2 separate regions of the Homo sapiens genome follow, and region 1 is linked to region 2. Evidence: promoter capture Hi-C in human tissues and cell types (Jung and others, 2019). All regions are on one chromosome and are shown on one strand. The core of a region is centred on a gene start or on the middle of the fragment in contact, and the rest is flanking DNA. Distances in the headings are between cores, read along the strand shown.

Evidence for each region. The method cuts DNA at HindIII sites, captures the fragments that hold promoters and counts their contacts. A contact is called where the count stands out against the background at its distance.
Region 1: a contact is called between a fragment that was not itself captured here and the fragment with the promoter of CEBPE in region 2, in 3 of the 25 tissues and cell types used here (mesenchymal stem cells, mesendoderm cells and thymus).

What each region holds. Positions count from the first base shown.
Region 1 is chr14:23,227,253-23,234,787 of GRCh38, reverse strand. It overlaps a transcript of RNF212B not described here and the pseudogene RPL39P2. Among named protein-coding and RNA genes, the nearest start is that of RNF212B, 6.9 kb to the left of the region's middle. The HindIII fragment of the contact is 6,657 bases long and covers 1-4,613 here.
Region 2 is chr14:23,113,632-23,120,504 of GRCh38, reverse strand. CEBPE (CCAAT enhancer binding protein epsilon) reads left to right here and starts at 1,250. Exons shown (of 2, transcript NM_001805.4): 1 at 1,250-1,923; 2 at 2,683-3,199. The coding sequence starts at 1,414. The coding sequence ends at 3,018. RefSeq lists enhancers at 1-451, 532-611, 4,540-5,739, 5,905-6,623. The HindIII fragment of the contact is 12,579 bases long and covers 1-5,590 here.

The DNA of each region.
Region 1 (7,535 bases), core at 36-2,535, 110 kb before region 2:
AATTCTACTTAAATAAAAGTTTTCACTGGAAAATATTTTAGTGCCATGTGGAGTGGGGCGTTAGCCCCATCCAATATTAAAATATATTATAAAACGTCTGTAATTTAAAGTGTGGTGTTGGTGCATAAACGTGTAGACCAATGAAACAGAATCAAGTCTAGAAATAGAACCAAGTACGTTAATAAATTTTAATTGGTAAGTGTGCATGGGGAATTGAATTTTTATATACATAGAATTGGGACAACTGAATAGCCATCTGAAAAAATATAAAATTGAGTCTGTTTCTCATACTGTTTACCAGGATAAATTTCAAATGGATCAGAAATCTAAACAGACAGGTACCAGACGAAAATAATAGTAAATACTCTTATAACCTAGGTGTGCAGGAAATCTTCCTAGGATCCAAAAATCTAGAAGAGAGAAAATATTGACAAATTTGACTAAGTAATTTTAAAAAAAACTTTTTGCATGTACACACACACACACACACGAAAAGTAAAGCACAAAGTGACAAATTACAAAAAAAATCAACTTAAATCCTAAAGGGCTAATAGCTTTAATATACAAAGAGCTTTTTAAAAAAGAAAACCAACAACTTAATAGAAATTTGAACAGTTGAAAAAAAAAAGAGACCAACAGTTTTCCTAGAAAATATCTTGGTTTTGAGTGTTCTGGGCTTTTTGAGTGTTCCTTCGTACACATGGTATACATGGCTGGAGTGCAAGTGCAGTGGTACTATCTCAGCTCACTGCAACCTCTGCCTCCCAGGTTCAAGCAATTCTCCTGCCTTAGCCTCCTGAGTAGCTGGAACTACAGGCACACACCACCAGGCCTGGCTAATTTTTGTATTTTTAGTAGAGACAGGGTTTCACCGTGTTGGCCAGGCTGGTCTCGAACTCCTGACCTCAGGTGATCCGCCCACCTTGGCTTCCCAAAGTGCTGGGATTACAGGCATGAGCCACCATGCCCAACCTACCCATTTTTAATTGGGTTGTTTATTTTCTTATTGTTGAGTTTTGAGAACTCTTTTTTTTTTTTTTTTTTTTGAGACAGGGTCTCACTCTGTTGCCCAGGCTGAAGTGCAGTGTCATGATTATGGCTCACTGCAGCCTCAACCTCCCAGGCCCGAATGATTCCCCTAACTCAGCCTCCCGAGTGGCTGGGACTACAAGCATGCACCACCATACCCGGCTAATTTTTCTATTTTTTTTTTTTTTTTTTTTTTGTAGAGATGGGGTTTCACCATGTTGCCCAGGCTGGTCTCAGACTCCTGGGCTCAACTGATCCTCCCACCTCAGCCTCCTAAAGTACTGGGATTATAGGCATGAGCCACCAAACCCAGATAAAATTTTCTTTTCTTTAAATATTCTTTTTTTTTTTTTTAATTGATCATTCTTGGGTGTTTCTCGCAGAGGGGCATTTGGCAGGGTCATAGGACAATAGTGGAGGGAAGGTCAGCCAATAAACATGTGAACAAAGGTCTCTGGTTTTCCTAGGCAGAGGACCCTGCGGCCTTCCGCAGTGTTTGTGTCGCTGGGTACTTGAGATTAGGGAGTGGTGATGACTCTTAACCAGCATGCTGCCTTCAAGCATCTGTTTAACAAAGCACATCTTGCACCGCCCTTAATCCATTTAACCCCGAGTGGACACAGCACATGTTTCAGAGAGCACAGAGTTGGGGGTAAGGTCATAGATCAACAGCATCCCAAGGCAGAAGAATTTTTCTTAGTACAGAACAAAATGGAGTCTCCTATGTCTACTTCTTTCTACACAGACACAGCAACAATCTGATTTCTCTGTCTTTTCCCCACCTTTCCCCCTTTTCTATTCCACAAAACCACCATCGTCATCATGGCCCGTTCTCAATGAGCTGTTGGGTACACCTCCCAGATGGGGTGGTGGCCGGGCAGAGGGGCTCCTCACTTCCCAGACGGGGCAGCTGGGCAGAGGCACCCCCACCTCCCAGACAGGGTGGCGGCCGGGCAGAGGCTGACCCCCCCCCCACCTCCCTCCCAGACGGGGCGGCTGGCCGGGTGGGGGCTGACCCCCCCACCTCCCTCCCGGACGGGGCGGCTGGCCGGGCGGGGGCTGACCCCCCACCTCCCTCCCAGACGGGGCGGCTGGCCTGGTGGGGGCTGACCCCCCAACTCCCTCCCGGACGGGGAGGCTGGCCGGGCGGGGGCTGACCCCCCAACTCCCTCCCGGACGGGGTGGCTGCTGGGCGGGGGCTGACCCCCACCTCCCTCCCAGAGGGGTGGCTGCTGGGCAGAGACGCTCCTCACTTCCCAGACGGGGCGGCTGCCGGGCGGAGGGGCTCCTCACTTCTCAGACGGGGCGGCTGCCGGGCGGAGGCGCTCCTCACTTCTCAGACAGGGCGGCTGCCGGGCGGAGGGGATCCTCACTTCTCAGATGGGGTGGCTGCCAGGTGGAGGGGCTCCTCACTTCTCAGACAGGGCAGCCGGGCAGAGACGCTCCTCACCTCCCAGATGGGGTTGCGGCCGGGCAGAGGCGCTCCTCACATCCCAGATGGGGCGGCGGGGCAGAGGCGCTCCCCACATCTCAGACGATGGGCAGCCGGGCAGAGACGCTCCTCACTTCTTAGACGGGATGGCGGCGGGGAAGAGGCCCTCCTCACTTCCCAGAGTGGGCAGCCGGGCAGAGGGGCTCCTCACATCCCAGACGATGGGCAGCCAGGCAGAGACGCTCCTCACATCCCAGACGGGGTGGCAGCCGGGCAGAGGCTGCAATCTCGGCACTTTGGGAGGCCAAGGCAGGCGGCTGGGAGGTGGAGGCTGTAGCTAGCCAAGATCACGCCACTGCACTCCAGCCTGGGCAACAACATTGAGCACTGAGTGAACGAGACTCCGTCTGCAATCCCGGCACCTCGGGAGGCCGAGGCTGGCAGATCACTCACGGTTAGGAGCTGGAGACCAGCCCGGCCAACACAGCGAAACCCCCTCTCCACCAAAAAAATACAAAAACCAGTCAGGCGTGGCGGCGCGTGCCTGCAATCGCAGGCACTGGGCAGGCTGAGGCAGGAGAATCAGGCAGGGAGGTTGCAGTGAGCCGAGATGGCAGCAGTACAGTCCAGCTTCGGCTCAGCATCAGAGGGAGACCATGGAAAGAGAGGGAGAGGGAGACCGTGGGGAGAGGGGAGAGGGGAGAGGGGAGAGGGGGAGCTCTTTAAATATTCTTATCTTTTCTTCTACTCTGAAAGGAAAATGGGGTACCTCTGGAAATTTTCTTCAAAAATTCTAGAAATCTAGATTTGTAATTTTGATTTTACATTTAGGTATATGATTCATTTGAGTTAATTTTCTACATGGTGTGAGGTATGGATTAAAGTTTGCATGTGCATATGTGGGTGTGTTTTGCATGTGGATATCCAATTGTTTCAGCACCATTTTTTTAAAAGATTAACTTTTCTCAACTAAATTGCCTTTGTCAAAAATTGATTGCCCAGAGAAAATAATTCCATTTGTGACAGCATCAAGAAGGATAAAATATTTAGGAATAAATTTAATCAAGGAGAGGCACAAGACTTGTTTGTACATAGAACACTACTTAATATTGTTTACAATAGCATCCAAAGCTATATACGGATTCAATGTCATCCCTATCAAAATTCCAACTATTTTTTCAGAAATTGAAAAATCCACCCTAAAATTAATATAAAATTTCAAAAAACTTAGAATAGTCAAAACAATCTTAAAAAGGAAAAAATTTGGAAGACTCATATTGCCCAATTTCAAAACCTACTACAAAGCTACTGTAATCAAAACAGTGTGTTTCTAGCATAAGGATAGACATATATAGACCAACAGAATAGAACTGAGAATCCAGAAATAAACCCTCACATCTATGGTCAGTTGATTTTTGACAAGGGTGTCAAGACCATTGAATAGGGGAAAGAACAGTCTCTGCAACAAACAGTGCTGGGAAAACTATGTCCATATGCAAAAGAATAAAGTTGAATCCTTACCTTACACCATATACAAAAATTAACTCAAAATGGATCAAAGACCTAAATGTATGGGTGAAAACTCTAAAACTCTTAGAAGAAAATATAGGGGAAAATCTTCATGACCTTGTATTTGGCAATGGTTTTTTTTTTTTTTTTTTTTTTTTTTTTTTGAGATGGAGTCTCGCTCTGTCGTCCAGGCTGGAGTGCAGTGGCGCGATCTCGGCTCACTGCAAGCTCCGCCTCCCGGGTTCACGCCATTCTCCTGCCTCAGCTTCCCGAGTAGCTGGGACTACAGGCCCCCGCCACCACACCCGGCTAATTTTTTGTATTTTTAGTAGAGACGGGGTTTCACCGTGTTAGCCAGGATGGTCTCGATCTCTTGACCTCGTGATCCACCCGCCTCGGCCTCCCAAAGTGCTGGGATTACAGGCGTGAGCCACCGCGCCCGGCCGGCAATGGCTTTTTAAATACAAAAATAGCACAGGCAACAGAAGAAAAATAAATAAAAGGGACTTAGTTAAAATTAAAAACTTTTGTGCAACAAAGGATACTATCAAGAAAGTGAAAGGCAACCCACAGAATGGGATAAAATATTAGTAAATCATATATCTGATAAGGTTTTAATATTCAAAATATAAAAAGAACTACAACTCTCTCTCTCTTCCTTTTTCCACCATTGTGGTGTGTATTCGACTCCGCTTCTCATCATGTCTTCTCACAAGACTTTCAGTATTAAGCAATTCCTAACCAAGAAACAAAAGCAAAATCATCCCATTCCTCAGTGGATTTGGATGAAAACTGATAATAAAATCAGGTACAACTTTAAAAGGAGACATTGGAGAAGATTCAAGCTGGATCTATAAGGAATTGTGCACGAGATGGCACACATATTTATGCAGTATCAAGCTCATAACCATCTTACCATATCAAGCTAAAAATGTCACCACTATCTGGACAGTTGGGCATGTTTTATTGGGAATATAGTTTTTCTGTTTCTTTATTTGCTGTGCGCTAGTAGTCTGGGTTCAGTAATAAATATGTGAGAACTCTTGTTTCAAAAAAAAGAACAACTCAACAACAAAAAAGTCAAACAACCCAATTAAAAATAGGCAAAAGATTTGAATAGACATTTCTACAAAGAAGATATAGAAGTGTCCAGCAGACACATGAAAAGATTCTCAATATAATTAGTCATAGGGGAAATGCAAATTAAAACCACAGTGAAATATCATTTCACATGTGGTGGGGTGGCTAGAATTTTCTAAATGAAAATATGTTTTAGGAGGATATGGAGAAATCAGAACCCTTGTACATTGCTGATGGGAATGTACAATGATGCACCTGCTTTGGAAAGCAATTTGGTGGCTCCTCAAAAAGTGAAAAATAGAACTATCCTGCCATGTGACCCAGCAATTCCATTCCTAGGTGTATACAAAATAATTTAAAACAGGGGCTCAAACAGATATGTGTACACCAATATTCCTACCAGCATTATTCACAATAACCAAAAGATAGAAACAACACAAATGTCCATTAGTAGATGAATGGATAAACAATGTGGTATATATATATATATATATATATATATATATATATATATATAAAATATTATTCAGCCATAAAGGAAATAAAGTTTTGATACATGCTACAACATGGATGAATCTTGAAAAAATTATGCTAAGTGAAATAAGCCAGACACAAAAAGAGAAATATTGTATAATCTCACTGAAATATCCAGAACAGTCAGATTTATAGAGACAGAAAGTAGATTAGAGGTTAGCAGGAACTAGGGGTATGAGAGATAGGAAGTAATTGCTTAATGGGTGAAGAGTTTCTGTTAGTGGTTATGAAAAATTATGGAAATAGAGATGATGATTGTACAACATTGTGAATGTACCTAATGCCACTGAATTGCACACTAACAATGGTTAAAATAGCAAATTTTATGTTATATATTTTACCGAAATAAAAAGGAAAATCAGTGTTCTATACATATTCAAGCCCATTTCTGCATGCTCTATTCTGTTCCACTGATTGATTTGTCTGTCTTGATGCCAATACCATACTGTCACTTACTGTAGCCTTATGATAAGTCTTGAAATGATGTAGTCTTGATCCTCTTTGTTCTTTCTTCTTCTTGTGTTTTTGTTTTGTTTTGTTTTGTTTTTTTGTTTTTTTAGAGAGTCTTGCTCTGTCACCCAGGCTGGATTGCGTTAATGTGATCACAAGTCACTGCAACCTGGAAGTCCTGGGCTCAAGTGATCCTCCCTGCTCATCCTCCCTGCTCATCCTCCCAAATAGTTAGGACTACAGGCACATGCCACCACACCTGTTAATTTTTTTTTTTTTTTTTTTTTTTTTGGTAGAGATAGGGTTTTACTATGTGGGCCAGGCTGGCCTCAAACTCCTGGCCTCAAGTGATTTTCCTGCCTTGGCCTCCCAAAGCTCTGGGATTACAGCTGTGATCCACTGCGCCTGGCCAGCCTGTTCTTTTGCAGAGTTGCTTTGACCATTCTAACTCATTTGCATTTCCAAATGAATTTTATTATCAGATAAACAATTTCTAAAAAGAGCCTGATGAGTTTTTTTTTTAGACAGAGTTTCGCTCTCGTCACCCAGGCTGGAGTGTGATGGCACGATCTCAGCTCACCGCAATCTCCACCTCCACCACCTTCAAGCAATTCTCCTGCCTCAGCCTCCTGAGTAGCTGGGATTACAGGCATGTGCCACCACGCCTGGCTAATTTTGTATTTTTAGTAGAGACGAGGTTTCTCCATGTTGGTCAGGCTGGTCTTGAACTCCCGACCTCAGGTGATCCACCTGCCTCGGCCTCCCAAAGTGCTGGGATTACAGGCTTGAGCCACCATGCCTGGCATTGCCTGATGAGATTTTTAAAAAACTTTTATATTTTTAGAACTTTTTATTGACCAGGTGTGGTGACTCAAGCCTGTAATCCCAGCACTTCGGGGGGCTGAGGTGGGTGAATCACCTGAGTCCAGGAGTTTGAGATCAGCCTGGCCAATGTAGTAAAATCCTGTCTCTACAAAAAGTACAAAATTAGCCAGGCGTGCTGATGCATGCCTGTAGTCCCAGCTACTAAGGAGGTTGAGGTGGGAGAATCTCTTGAGCCTGCAGGTTGAGGCTGCAGTGAGCAGTGATTGCACCACTGCCTCCAGCCTGGGTGACAGGGCGAGAACTAGTCTCAAAACAAACAAAAAAACACTTTTTGTTCGATTTAATGTATATTCAATGTATATTGACATTTAATGTATATTCAATGTATATTGATGTATAATATACATACAGAAGTATGCCTATTTCTTGCACACATAGCTTACTGAATTTCCACAAACTCAACACACCCATGTAATCAGCCACCCTGATCAGAAATCATAACATTCCCAGCACCCAGAAAACCCCTGTGCCCGCTTCCATACACCATCTCCCCTAAAGGCAACCATTGTCCTGCTTTCTAATACCATAAATTGTAACTTTTTGTTTTAAAATAATTACAGAGAGAAGGTTCTTTGAGCACAAACTCCTCTTCTCCATTCCCTGATCAACGAATAAA
Region 2 (6,873 bases), core at 1-2,500:
ACCTACAATCCCTTTTGGAGATGAAATTCAACAGGTAAAAGCAGTACCAGAGCAGGTGTCTCTGAAAGGAGGTAGTGGGGAGTTCCCAAAGGAAAGAGAAAAGGGAAGAGGAGAGCCAGCACAGAACAAAGAATTGCAGAGAGGGAGCCATGGGCTTCTCCTGGAGACCCTAAAACAGAGCCCCAGGAAGAGGTGATGACATAAGAGGCTTCTCAAACCTCACAAGAGGAAGTAGACCCAAGAGACACGCATTGGAGATCAGAGAGCGGCCATGCAAAAGGAAAGACAGCAAACGAGCTGCAGCAAGCTCCTAAGCCCTGCAGCCCAGGCACAGGAAACCAGAGGCAGAGCCTCAGGCCCAGGGTGAGGGGCGAAGCACCAGCCTGAGCCTCTTGCAGCACAGAGCAGCTGGAAGAGAGAAGTGCTGGAGCCACCGGAGGATTATGGCTGTCTACTCCGAGGGCAGCAACCTGCCTAGGCCTGCGGTGCAAGGCCCAAGTCCTGACCAGGTGCTTTGGCCAAGCCCAGGGAGTTAGGAAGTGTACCAGGCTGCTAGAGGTAGCTAGGGCTGGAAACGCACTAACATGTGGGCTATTGCACAGCTCCTGTGCAAAAACCTAGCAAATGAGCATGCTCTGGAGCACCACGCAGGCTCGCGTGTAGAGCTTGTTCCTAGGACCTATCACTACTCCCTAGACCCCTCAAAAAACAAACCCTGGCCTACACTCAGAGAATGCTCTGGGAGGTGGGGCTACAAAAGAAACTTTCTCTTGGGGGTAGGTGGAGCCCAGCAGCAGGGGAGAGCCAGAGGAAGGCGTGTCAAGGGAGGAGGTGAGACCCAACTGAGGGTAGGCACTGGAAGAGGGCTTTCTCTCTTCACTCTAACTTGGAACCTCATTCTGCATAGAACTTTTTCAAAGTCGGAGGGAGGAGGTTGCTCAGAGTGGGGTGTTGCCCTCTGCGAGGATTTGGAGTCCCCTGGCCTCCCAGCAGGGAGTGGAGAGGCATTCCCAGAAGCATCAGCTTCGGGCATCTCCAGAACCCTGGCTTGGTCCCTGACCAAGGAGTGTCCCCAACTGCTGAATAGGCCAGGAGTCGCCTTTCTCTAAGGCTTACATCTCTCCCTCTGGGGTGTGTCCTGCCCCTCCCTGAGTCACCCCAAGGGGAGAGAGGGGAAAAAAGGGAAGAGAAGAGAGGCATTGACTACAGAGGAAGGAAAAGGAAGCAGAGCAGAGGGGGGAGAGAGGCCACACAGGAGTGGGTGACAGAGGAGACTGCAGAGGGCAGGTCTAGGGCAGAAGATCGAGAGAGGGCAGGCCCAGGTCAGGAGGAGGTAGAGAGAGGGCAGCCGGAGCACCCCAAGGGGTGCCTCAAGAGCAGGTGGGGGCGGGGAGCCGAGGGGGCGGGCCGGCCATGTCCCACGGGACCTACTACGAGTGTGAGCCCCGGGGTGGCCAGCAGCCACTCGAGTTCTCAGGGGGCCGAGCTGGGCCCGGGGAGCTAGGGGACATGTGTGAGCATGAGGCCTCCATTGACCTCTCCGCCTACATCGAGTCTGGGGAAGAGCAGCTTCTCTCCGATCTCTTTGCCGTGAAGCCAGCGCCTGAGGCCAGAGGCCTCAAGGGCCCCGGAACCCCTGCCTTCCCCCACTACTTGCCGCCTGACCCTCGGCCCTTTGCCTACCCTCCACATACCTTCGGCCCAGACAGGAAGGCGCTGGGGCCTGGCATCTACAGCAGCCCAGGGAGCTACGACCCCAGGGCTGTGGCGGTGAAGGAGGAGCCCCGGGGGCCAGAGGGCAGCCGAGCTGCCAGCCGAGGCAGCTACAATCCCCTGCAGTACCAAGTGGCACACTGTGGGCAGACAGCCATGCACCTGCCCCCAACTCTGGCAGCACCCGGCCAGCCTCTGCGCGTTCTCAAGGTAAGAGCAGGCCAGCCCTCCTCCCTCCTGCCCGGGGCTGGAGAGGCTGGTGTGGACAGGACCCTGTGCCCCGGCTCATGCTGCTGAGCCTGTGCTTGGTGTCGCTCTGTGAAATGGACCCAACCCACAGTCCTCTGTGTTCACACCCCACCATGACCTCCCTTTCCTTCTCTGTGAATTCATTCCCACCCTGAATCCCCACCCAAAGCCCCTGTGGCAAGCTGACCTACTTGATCTCAGGCCCCCACCGCCAGCCTCTCTGCTGCTCACCATGCCCCCTCCTCTTGTTTCTCTGCCGCCTGCTTCTGTGAGAAATGTCTACTGGTCATAGAACGGGAGACTCAAGGCAGATTGAGGGAAAGTGTACTCAGAAAGTGTGAGAGCATTGGCTGGGTGTCGTGGCTCATGCCTGTAATCCCAGCGCTTTGGGAGGCCAAAGCAGGAGGTTCGCTTAAGGCCAGGGGTTGGAGACCAGCCTGGACAACATAGCAAGGCTCCATCTTTACAAAAAAAGAAAGAAAGAAAGTGTGAGAACATGAAAGGGAGTTTTGGTCTCAAGCAGAGGACCCTGTGCATCTGGGTCACCATCTCCCAGAAGCAGAGCGATGATAGTTTTGACCTGAGAGACAGGAGCTGGCTCTGAGTCCTGTATTCCTTTGACGCATCAAGTGTGCCCTGGCTGCCGAGATTCCCGCCCCGCCTCCGCTCTGCCTCCTGGCCAGCCCTCACCTCTCCGTCTCTCCGTGCCTTCCCCTCCAGGCCCCTTTGGCCACTGCCGCACCCCCCTGCAGTCCCCTCCTGAAGGCGCCCTCCCCGGCTGGCCCCTTACACAAGGGCAAGAAGGCAGTGAACAAAGATAGCCTTGAGTACCGGCTGAGGCGGGAGCGCAACAACATCGCCGTGCGCAAGAGCCGAGACAAGGCCAAGAGGCGCATTCTGGAGACGCAGCAGAAGGTGCTGGAGTACATGGCAGAGAACGAGCGCCTCCGCAGCCGCGTGGAGCAGCTCACCCAGGAGCTAGACACCCTCCGCAACCTCTTCCGCCAGATTCCTGAGGCGGCCAACCTCATCAAGGGCGTGGGGGGTTGCAGCTGAGGCTGGCTGGTGGATTGTGGGCACCAGGCTCCCTGGCACGGCCTAACTCTGCGGACCCCCATCCTGCTGGGGGCCTAGAACCCTGAGACATAGACCATGGATAAATGGCAACCGGGGTGGCAAAGAGGGCAGGACCCAGCATAATGATTATATGGCTGAATAAAGTTGCACTGTGACTGGGTGTTGGGACTGTTGGCTGTGTGTGTGTGTGTGTGTGTGTGTGTGTGTGTGTGTGTGTCATGGAGGACCCTGGGGACAGAGGATGCATGTGGCTAGGTCTGCACCTCTTGTTTCCATGACCAAGTGGACATGTGGAAACACAGACATGCTGTCCACAGCCCACCCCCAATATACCACACAGCCAGGCCGTGTATCTGTCACTCTGCTCTTCTCTCCCTGACATCCCCCATCACCCCCTTCTGTGAGCTGAAGGCACATCCCCGCCCCCCACAGGACCTGGAGCACCTTTGTATGCTCTGCTAACAAAGATCTTCAGCTTGTAGGGAGATCCCGGCACCACACAGTCCTTCATGCCCAGGCCTGCTGATCCCAGGCCCACTCTCTCTCACCTTGAGGTATAGGTCTGGGAGCTCCTGCCCCAGGTGACCATGGGAAAATTCCTGATGGCTCTGCCATATTTATGGTCCCTTGATCCAGCCCGCCATCTCTTCTCTCCATTTCCAAAGCCTCAGTCTACCAGATGGACACCCTCCCCACGCTGCTCCCACCCATTCATTTCCATCCTTTGTCCCTCATCCCTGAGGCTCCAGTTCCCTAAAGCTTGAGAATTGAGTGCATGGGACAGGAATCGGTTGGGAAAGACCTGGAGACCGGATTTGTGTATGAGAACACTGGTAGTGAGAAGGAGGATGACAATCTGCCCGTGCCAGGGAAACCCATCATTCGAAACAGCATTTTCTTTTGCATTGGACTACAGCCTAAGAGACAGAATGGTACAATAATTAAGAGCCTCAGTTTGAATCTTACACTGCTACTTACTAGCTGTGAGCCTTGAGCCATTATGTCTTTCTGTGCCTCAGTTTCCTCATCTGCAAAATGGTTGCAATATTTGTCCCCACTCCGTAGTGTTGTTATATTCATAGAAAAAGAAAACTTTGCATGTAATAAGCATATTTATTATGATTCCTCCATTTTGCTGGAACTGAAAGGACCTCAGAGATCTCATCTAAACTCATTTTGCAGGTAAGAAAACAGGCTGCAAAGAGGGGAAGGGACTTACCTGGAGTCACACGATTGTTTAGAGGTAGAACCAAAATTGGCTCTGTAAAATCGCAGATCTCAAGATGTGCTGGGAGAGACCTCAAGAGATCATCTGGTGGGCTCTGCCCTCAGACCAGCAAGGTAGGGTGAGCCACATTTTACAGATAAAGCAGTTGAGGGCCAGAGGGGTAAGAGGCTTCTCCTGACACTCACTGAGTCCCTTTGCTGCCTCAGTACGTGGTACCTGTCTCTCTACTCCACGCTACACTCTTCTCACAGATCCTCAGTACGAGTGTCACATGAATCACATTCAATAAAGAACAGTGCCCAACAGTGTCAGGGACCCAGGGACAGATTACGGGCTTCTTAAAGTCTCTCCTAAGCCAATGCTGTGAAAGGCTGAGTCAGACATCAAGGAATAATTTTCTGAGAAGGTGAGAGACTGGTGTCTGGATCATCCCAGATCTCTCTCCCTTCTTCAAATCTCCAGCGGTAGAGCCCTCCCACACCTCGGGCATCCGTGTGCGGCATGTCTACCTTGCCCAGGACTCAGTCCTTTTCCTGCCTTTGCCTCTGTGTCTCTCGGGCACCTCTGTGTCCTGGAGGCCCGTGCCCCAGGTCTGGTTTGGAGGGAGAGATCTGAACCTTCAGTGGAGGGACCGACTGGAGCTTCCTGAGTTCAGAAGGAGGGGAGGTACCAGTCTCTGTGGGCACCTGGGAGAATCCTCACACCTTCCTTTCAGCCCAGGGGGATAGGTTGCATAAGGGGGGTTTGTACAGAACATGGTAAATGACTCAACCTCCGGATTTCCTCCTCTCAGCTCAAGACCACTGTCCCTTGACTTACTTTCAAGGTTCTGGGTGATGGGACCTGGGTTGCTTCAGCATGAAGCCCAGGCTTTGTTCCCACAGCTCTGAATTGCTTCTCCTCTCAGGCCCCCGCTCACCCAGTCAGGTCCTCAGGGCCGGTGCCTAGTGGAGCCTTCCTGACTGGCACCCAGTCTGGGGGAGTCACATCCCCGTCTCCCCACTGTGATCCCAGCGTGACGTGCAGCAGCTGAACACATCCCAATCCTCTGCATCAGATCATATTCCAGGGGTGTGAGTCAGAGCCAGAGGGCACACTTCCTGAAAGAGGCTTTCAATCTGACCTCAATTGGTTTTGGCCAACGTAACTTATTCAACAAGTATTTGTTGAGTATCTTTTCTAGGAATGAGACAAGTTCTCAGCAGAAGGAGTAGGAAGAAAAAGTCAATAAACAAGTGTGCTGAATGTCTTCCTTTGCCCCTCCAGAACCCTCTCCACCCTTCATCACCCTACACAGTCCCCAGGTGGATGCCTCCCTACATCAACCAGCCTCTCATGGGGTGGGGGTGAGACTGGCAGGAGGAGAGTGGTGGGAGCCCCCTGCTGACCGGCGCTCTCCACAGTCCCTCCCAAAGGATTCCTGGCCCTCAGGCGCCCCCCGTGCTGGGCTAGCCCAGGGGACTTCACCACTCCAGGAACTTTCCCCAGATACTGTTGGTTCACATCTTCATAAAGCACCTTAATTAACTTCTCCTGCTTACTCCATTTGAATAGCCCATTGGGGAAACCACATAAACCAACAGGTAGGGAGGCTATTTTAGCTGGGGTGGCCGAGAAAGGTATCTCTGAGGAAGTGACATTTTAGTTGACACTTCAAAAATTTTGAGAAGGAGGCAGGTATGTCTTTGAGTGTAAGGGTGAACAGAGGGAAGGGTAAATGCAAAAGCCCTAAGGTGACCGAGAGAAAGGAAGCCAGGAGTAGATGCTGAATGAAAGAAGGAAGGAGAGGATAAGTAAGAAAAAGATGCACCTTCCCTCCAGAATGGGGCTGCAGGGGTTGCAAATGACTATTTTCATTCCCTCTGTCAAGGAGGATGGTGCCTAAGAAGCCGGGGCAGGTGGAGAGCAGGGTTCTCTCTGCCCCTGGATTCAGCTTCCCTGCCCCTTGGTCCTCCTGGCACCTTTACCACAGTAAGGTTGTCCCCACTGGGGAAGGAGATGACAGAAAGGAGCCCAGGGAAGGGCAGTTAGCCAAACCCTGCCTGGGGAAAGGCACCAGGACCGGGGACTCGATAACGTTTGAAAACCAGCAAATCAAGGTCCAAACAGCACACGCATGCAGTCCTATTGCTTCAGCGCCCACAGCTCAGGCCCACTTTTCTTTCTGGAGCAGAACTGGGGAGCAGAATGAGACTCCTGAGCTGAGAGACAGGATCTTAGGCCACAGGGAAGCTGCAGAGGAGAAGACAGACTGTGGGGAGACACTGCAGAGGGAGGAAGCTGCCCAAGGTGAGTCTGCCAAGGTCAGTCAGCGGAGGCAGTGGCTTGTGAAAGCTGCCCCCAACCCCCCTGCTCGGTGCACACCTCCCCACCCCTCTACACAGATTGCCACATGCCTGGGCCCCCAGGGCCCCCATCCCAGTGTTGCAAGATCCCGGTTGGGGTTGTGGGTGGAAAGGGGCCTCTTCACCTCCACCCCCTGCCGTGCTCCAAGCCAGTGAGGGGACTATGGGATGAAGGGGGCTGTTCAGGAGACGCTGAGGCAACAATAGGCAGGGCTGGCTGAGAGCCTGTGCGTCTCCTCTCGGACAGGCCAGTCACTTCCC